Regions from separate parts of the Homo sapiens genome. Here region 2 is linked to region 1. The links are contacts of gene promoters, found by promoter capture Hi-C in blood cells and fetal thymus (Javierre and others, 2016). All regions are on one chromosome and are shown on one strand. Each heading gives the region's core, a stretch centred on a gene start or on the middle of the fragment in contact. The rest is flanking DNA. Distances are from core to core; before and after follow the strand shown. Region 1 holds the start of KCNJ16 (potassium inwardly rectifying channel subfamily J member 16). Region 2 overlaps MAP2K6 (mitogen-activated protein kinase kinase 6).

Evidence for each region. Contacts are between HindIII fragments. The CHiCAGO score rates a contact against its expected background, and 5 or more counts as called.
Region 2: a contact is called between a fragment that was not itself captured here and the fragment with the promoter of KCNJ16 in region 1, in 1 of 17 cell types (M0 macrophages). The highest score is 5.4, in M0 macrophages.

The regions. Positions count from the first base shown.
Region 1 is chr17:70,073,817-70,077,823 of GRCh38, forward strand. KCNJ16 (potassium inwardly rectifying channel subfamily J member 16) reads left to right here and starts at 1,409. Exons shown (of 4, transcript NM_170741.4): 1 at 1,409-1,574. LOC105371881 (a long non-coding RNA gene) reads right to left here and starts at 991. Exons shown (of 3, transcript XR_934952.3): 1 at 1-991. The HindIII fragment of the contact is 12,238 bases long and covers 1-1,780 here.
Region 2 is chr17:69,550,283-69,554,301 of GRCh38, forward strand. MAP2K6 (mitogen-activated protein kinase kinase 6) reads left to right here. Exons shown (of 12, transcript NM_002758.4): 12 at 1-3,583. Among named protein-coding and RNA genes, the nearest start is that of LINC01483, 42 kb to the right of the region's middle. The HindIII fragment of the contact is 3,058 bases long and covers 130-3,187 here.

The sequences.
Region 1 (4,007 bases), core at 159-2,658:
TCATGGATAAACCACAATGAGAGTTGCTGCAATTGTTATGGAAATGTAGGCATTTGTTTAGTCTTCAATTTTTTTTTTTAACAGAAAAGGCAACCTCTGCATTCACTGCTTACCTGAGATTTATGGATGAATGAAAAGATAGGTCCCTTGGAGAGTTCAAACTCTTCTGCAGATATTGTGTAACAGATTGCAAAATAGGTCTTCCTATCAGAATATGTATACCTTAGTGACAGCTATGAGTTTGGAACACGAATTATCTATCTGTGGTAGGTGTTGTCGTTGTTGCTATTATCATCCCCATTTGACAGTTGAGAAAATGGAGTTGCAGAAAGGTTAAGCAGTTTCTCAGTGTCACACAGCTAGTAAGTGGCGGTGCCAACATAGAAGTCCACTTCCTCAAGTGTTCATGCTTTTAAAAATGGAAACAAAACTCTAACAACCGTCAAACAGCAACGATTGTCAGAACCTAGAAAAGGCCTCTTAAATTTGCAGTGTTAACCAAGCCTGATGTGGTTCCCTAGATCCCCTGGCTGCCACCGCTCTGTGAAGCAAAGGAAAAACTAATTCCTTGCTAGCATAACACTTCTATTGAGCATTCCTGGACACAACTCCCCCAGGTTCTGAAGAGCCTAGGGTTGCTATTTGTTTAGTTCCCCATGGCTGCTTTTCACATTTTCTGGATCTTTCTCTTGATTCTAGCATTATAAGTCTACCTCTTCCCTGATCACTCACTTTTCTACCTCCTGGAGAGCACTGACCACGGGATCACCTCACCATTTTATTTAACCCATTAGGACTCAATGCCAGGCAAAACCTATACCACAGCCTGCATTGTATTCACCATCTCAGGCTCGAGCTCTGATTCCTGGGGTTGAGGAAAGGAAGACTTTCCAACCCCAATTTCTGCCATCCATGTTGATTAGTCAGAGGGCTAATCAACTGTGAACTCATGTTCTTTGGAACTAGGCAGCACAGGAAAAATAATCATTAAAGGTTTGGTAAATAAAAGACTGAATGGATGCTTAGCTACCTGTCATTATCCTGTCTCGCTTTTCGTCAGCATGCAATCCCAATCCTCAGCTGTTAAGATGTAGACAAAGAGTTCTGATGAAAGGGATTTATTTGTACTATTCCAACAGAGTCTGAAAACTAGCAGGAGCATTTCCATAGGTCGTCTCTCAACAATCCTGTCTGTAAATATTTGAGTCACTTACAGGCATTGTTGAGCATAGTTCTGGCCCAGCAAATCTTCCTCCTTTGTATCCCTGATCAAGTAAAAACTTAGTCAGGATATACTTGGGTGACCTTCACACTGTACCTCCTCCAGAGGTACAGAGGTGGTGACGTAATCACTGCCACAGCTGACTGGCTATGGCTTGCTTGATAAGACGCCAGGGGCTACCTATGTAGATTCCCAGGGAGGAACTGTAGGAACAAACCGGTGTCAATGGTTAACCCAGGTTCTTGGTGTCTGGAGCTTTTCTTTCCTTTATTATTAACTAAAGAGCATTCTCTACCATTGCCCAGCTGAAAGCACCTAGCTCATAGATTCTCTGTGGGGAGAGTGAATAAAGGTAAGTGCTATTATTGCTATGGATACAATGTCATTCAGCCTATGTTTTGCTCTTGCTGGCATCTGTGTTTGGGGAGCAGCAACACTCTGTTTCCAGCAAACGTAAATATTAATGATCAATTAAATGCAATTAAGATAATTTAATTTTTTATCCAAGTGCTTTAAGTAGGAATCAAACAGTGTGTCATATTCCTTAAGTTATTTTGAAGCTTTGGTTAAAAGTAGTCTCACATTGGTGTTTACAGAGTCTGTTAAACAGCCCTTGCCTGCTATTATATTTGTAAATGTCTAAAAGTGGCTTTATTATATTCATACCACATGGAGTATTCTGCAATGTCTTTCAAAACCAGATTTTTGCATCCTGTATGCACTTATGAACATATAATTGCAAATATTGAAAAATATGTATTTTATACCCCCCTCTTAAAAAGCTCAGAGAAAATACACGTTAACTTTTTTTTATAGTTGTCTATAATCATTGAAAGGAAATAAGAGATCTATTTTTTCTAGATTTATTTTAACATAAATTGAAAGTGAAGAATTTTCTCCTTTTGTTTTCACCTTAATCCCTCTAAAGCTTTTTTTTTTTTCTTATCATTTAAAAATCTTAAAATTTTGTTTTGAGTATTTAGTCAGAAAAGTGTGAGCTTGTAAAACTTTGCTCTCTGGATGCCACGAATTCTCTGACATATATAATTGAACAGTTTTCCTTGTTGGTATATTTAGGTAGTAAACAATAACATTTCTATAAGCCAGATGAATTTTGATCATGTGTATTACATGGACTGAATGGTCTTTAGAAAAAGAGTATTGGAGTATTTCTGCTAAATATTACTCTTATGGCTAGTAAGAGCCAGATCCTGAAGAAGAAAAAAATGTATGAATGCACCTTTGTTACTTTAGTATGGGAAATGTAGACTAGCCACTCTTTATGTCAGATTTTAACCAATAAAGGAACATGAAGTACCCAAACCACAGCTGTTTTGCAGAATACATTTAAGGAATTCCTGAAATTCAGCCAAAAAGAATTTAAAAGTGAACAAGGTCCAGAGTTCAATTCAAATCAAAAGAGAGAGAAAGAGAAAGAGAGCCTGAGTAACTTAGAGATGTAATCCTGCTTGTTTATTTTTAGAACACGATAATTGTGATAAATCTAAGATTATTAGTCTCATATACAACAAGACTGACAACCTTTGAAACTGCAAGAAAAGACTGCTTTGGGAGAGGAATTCAATATTCTATTTTAATGCATTTTTCTCAACAAGAATTTCAGCATGAGAGAGAACAAGAGTCTTCAAGGATATTGAAAAATATATGTTTCTTCTATTATATAGATTAGTGGTGAGTACAAGCTAAGACCTGGATATAAATTAATTGAAAATTAGAAATGGAAAAAAAGTATAGTTTGAGGCAAAATATATAAAGGGCATTGAAAGTAAATATTTGGCACCGAAATAATACAGGTATTTTCTTTGTTAAATTAGTAAAACCTACCACTTGTCCTCATACAAGAACTTGAGTTCCAGCATAAGAAGATCATTGGGAGCCATCTTCAAAGCTACCTCCCACCATTTTCCATTTATAAATGGAACTGTCAAAGAAGTCTTCACTAAGGGGGTGATATTTAGCCAAAGACCTGGAGGTGGCAAGGAAGTGAGCAACGTAGAATCCTTGGAGAAGAGCAGTTCAGGCAGATGGAACAGCCCTAAGGCTGAGGTGTGCCTGGCGAGTTAACAAAACAGCAAAGAGGCCAGTGTGGCTGAAGCAAAATTGCAGGAGTGGGAGTAGCAGGGAATACATGAGGTCCTGTAGATGTGCCATAATATTTACCAAGACAGATACGATTCTGCAAGCTACAAGTGTCAGAGAAGGTTTTTGAGATGTTAGAAAAGACCATGGGAAGCGTAGATTTAGATAAGTGGAGAGACAGTGAGGAGTATTGCGGATGACAGGCTGATGATACAAGTGAACAAAATATAGATGTGAGAATGAGCAGAATTAGCATAAGCATGAGAGCAAATGAAGTTAGGCTCCTCCAGTGTACCCAATGGAGTAAATAAAAAGGTTTCTGAACATCAAGGCTGTGCTGAGGCTAACAATATGCTCACCAACATGAAACTTGTAAGGGAAACACAAATCTCAACACAGAAGCCAGGCCCTCTGTAGCTCAAACCAGATGTTGTCAAGAGACAGGAAATTAAGAAATCTAAGTAAAAGTAGATTTCATGGACAGTAAACAGAATTAGAAGTCTTTCTCCAAATGCCTCTTTCCTGGTTAGGCTGTGTTTTTTTTTTTTGTTTGTTTGTTTTTTCTTGCATTTTAGTGAGTCCATCCATCAGCTTTGGCATCTCCAAATGGCCCCTTTGCTGGAAACCATGGTAATAAGGGCTCATCTTCTGAGATGTCTATGGGAAATGAAAGTAAACTCAAATA
Region 2 (4,019 bases), core at 409-2,908, 520 kb before region 1:
ACCCCTCATCCATCAGCCACCTCTGGGTAAAGAAACACAAATACCAAAGCCTGAGCTCCTTAACCTTTTGTTCCAGAGGGCAGACATTTTTAAGAAAGGTGAATGTTAGAGAAGGTTACCTGATGAGCAAGCTTCTTTCCCATAATTCAGAGAACTGTGAATGTACTTAGAAATACACTACAGGTCTTCACCAGATGAACTAGATTTTATAATTTTAAAATATAATACTGAAAGCTAGTTTGAAGTTTCAGAAGCCATGAATTATGGGGAAGGAGTAGTTTTTTATTTTATTTTATTTTTCTGATCTCAAGTTGTTTGTCCTGTTGTATGTTCAATACTTGGGGAGATAAGAGCGAGGTACAGCTGTGGTTTTCAGACCATATTCAGTGGTGCCCCTGAGGGTCTCTTGTGAACAGAAGGGAAAAAGAGTGTGATGAAGGTGAACTCTGCCTATCTGAACCTCTGTCAACCTCCAGTCAGAATATCTGGCTTCTAGTATTGTTCCTTTTAACTGGAAGTCTCTGTGGCCATTAAAAACTTGGGAACGTTGGATTAAATGACCACTTTAGGACTTTAAACAGTCTCAAATATGGGAAATTTTATAGCCAACCACGGCTGTGAGTCCCTGGCTTTTGCCGTACTGAGTATGCTCACAGAGATAGGGAGATAGGTGGCCAGAAGACAGGGTCATTTAATTTTAATTGAGCATAAATCATTTTGAAAGAAAAATGCAAGGAATTGTTGTATGACAGCCATGCATTATAGATCCTTACATGCGACATTTTCCTAAAGTGGTTGAGAATGACCTGATCTTTGTTCACCGTCTCAGTGACAAGGCGTGGAGTGACTGGGCTCTTCATATGCAGTGGAATTTTTGCATCTCTAGGTTTGCAGAGGCAGGAGTTACCGTTTTTGTTCATTGACCTATCAGAAAAAAGCAAATCCTTTGGACAATGTTGACACAGACAGGGGTACGGTCTGAGACTCAAGCTAACAGAGCTACCCCTTGCTGCCTTTTGCAAAGGTGTTGTAGGTGGAGAAGGGTAATGGAAACCTGGTACAGCCTTTAGAAGTTGGAAGCTATGGTGGTGTATCTGTCATGAACTGCACACAAGGGAATGCTTAAACACCAGCTGAGTCATATCAGGTGCCTTGTACACACACATAAAGAGTCTGGTGAATTCTGACAGTGTTCTGTTTGCCACTAGAGCAAATTTAATAGCTGGGGTTTCACAGCAACTGTTTTAGAAAACTATATGTGCCAAAAATTTACATTGGGCAGCAGTTTATAGTGTTCTTGGCCAATCTGCATAAAAGCCACTTGAGGAGGTTTGATTAAGAAAATTGTGTTTATCTCCTGTATTACCTCTGTGTTTGATTTATTCTTTAGTCTCAAATTTATTTTCTGAGTGGACTGATTTTCTATATGAACTGAAATGATGTTTTAATAGAATAATAGGTATTTTTAGAGGAAAAGTATTTTTTTGTGTAATTTGCTTACACAACTAGGACATACTTCCTATGATACTGAATCATCAAATTGAGTCATTTAAAGCTGAAAGAGGTGTTAGGAATGTAGTTTCACATTATTTAAATACATGAACAGTTTTCTATATATTTTGTGAAAATCTTGATGAGACACTAGAATTTCTTTATGGAATTGAACTTTACAAGAATTTTAATAAAAGAGGTGGATTTCTTCAGCTTTCTTTGTGCTTCAGTTTCATAGCTGAAAATGCTGCTTCCGTTTATTAATATGGACTTTGTAAGGAAACACAACAACACGTTTTCTTACCTTCTGTAAATTTTGTGATAGACACATGTTATTTGTATATATGATTGATTGTTTGCCTGTTGCACCCTAAAGTTATTTTCAAACCATGTTTATTGCAAAGAGAGCCTTTGGGCAAGTGGAAAATGCCCTGATGCTAGAATGAGGTAGTTCCATAAGCTAGTTAGGAGCTTGCTACCTCTTCTTGGTACCTGAAATATTCTGAAAGGATATCGGAGAGGTCCTATGCACCCCTGTCTTTCAAAACCCACCTCCAGCACTTCAAAGTAGTGTCTCTGGAGAGTTTAAAATAAAAGAATGAATGCTATTCAGTGGATTCCCTCATTGAGGCTCCCATCTTTCCTGCCAGGTGCAGCTTTTTCTGGTTGGAATCATCTCTTCTTTACGGATTGCCGCATTGTCTCTTTGTGAATGAGGCAGGCTGAACTGTAGAGCATGAAACTCATTAGAAGTTTATAAAGTAAAGACCTGTAAAGCATGTGGGTGGAATGTTTCCATGCTCTTGAGGTGAATATTAAATTTAAATTCTGGCCTTTGGGAACTCTTTGCTTGTGAGCTGAAGAAGGAAAGAAGGAGTTGGGGGTGTATATCTAACTGTGTTTTTCTATATGGAAATATATGAGCATCAAGTGATAACTTCAATAAGGCCTCAGGATTGTATTTAAAATACCTGTTTTGTGGGACAGCATGCCTTTGTTTTCTTTGCCTGTTGGCTTTGGTGGCTCCAAACATTTTCATTTTAGGCTAGCTTTCCTGTCACCCAGGTTGTGTGCATTTTTTTTTTCATTTGAACTATTGTTTATCATTATTAATGATGTTATCTCCAAATCCCAAAGCCAAGGAAATAGCCAGTATGCAGGACTTGCAGTAGATATAAGCATTGGTGTTAACATAGGTTAAGTTTTGTTAGTGTTCCCAGAAATATACTGAATTGAGGGATAATGTAGCTTTAAAGAAATTATGTTTCTTTTTAACATTTGGAGAAGCCACCTGTCCTGGGTCCCTATTCTTGAGAAATTCATCTTTTCATGCAAATAACATTGATGGGGGACAAGACTGGATGATTGACTTCTATCAGTCAGTAGACAAGGAAGTATAATAATTGCCAAAGGTGAGGGTAATTTTGCCTTACAAGTATGTAGGTCATTCTGTGGTGGGATTTCCCATCACATCTAGTAAAAAACAACCTTTTCATTTCCCTCCTTTCTAATCCAAGATCATATTTTTAAAAAGTAGGTTTCTGATGTGCCATGAAATATTTCTGTGAATCTGTGTTTTTGACCAAGGAAACAGCTGAGATATTAAACCATGTGGTTGTTCCACGGTTCATCTGGCTACCGTTCTGGGTCCCCTCTGACCACCTCAAAAAGAAAATGAAATTGGGAGATTAAATCAAGCTTGACCTCCTCTTTTAATGAGGAACTTTCACGTTGACTTCCTATCTCAGGATATTCTTCAGTTTCATACTGCTGAGGAGAAAGGAACAAGCTGCAGACACTGTAACTGGTCTCCAGATGTGTGTATATGCGTGTAAAACTTCACACCGTGTGTGTTGTGTTCAATGTTGTGTCAATCTACAAACTGACTCAAACAACAGTTTAACGATAGAGAAGACAGTGATAATGGCAAAAAAAACACCCAACCACCTTTTTCCGTCAAAGTGCTTGCTATGGCTTTCATAGCTGGGACAAGTAACATTAAGTATTCAGGAGCAAAGTGTTCTTGAAAGAAAATGGTGTGTTGATCTCATAAGAAAATGTACAACCAATAAAAGACATTTTAAAAAGCGTAGTGAGTCTGTACATTAATTGAGTTGTTGGAAACCCTATATTCCAGGAACATGGTATAAAAGGCTCTCCCGGTAAAAGCTTTCCTGGACTATATATTCTTGTTATTCTTTCTCTATGCTTTTCCTATTTCTACCACCGCACTTCCCAAACAGACTAGAACAAAACCTAACAACACAACAGTATTGCAGTCGTATTAGTCTGTTTTCATGCTGCTGATAAAAACATAACTGAGACTGTGCAATTAACGAAAGAAAGTGGTTTAATGTACTCACAGTTCCACGTGGCTGGGGAGGCTTCACAATCACAGTGTAAGACGAAAGGCATGTCTCAACATGGTGGTAGACAAGAGGAGAGAGAGAGCCCAGCAAAAGGGTAACCCCTCATAAGACCCTCAAATCTCTTGAGACTTACTCACTCTCATGAGAACAGTATGAGGG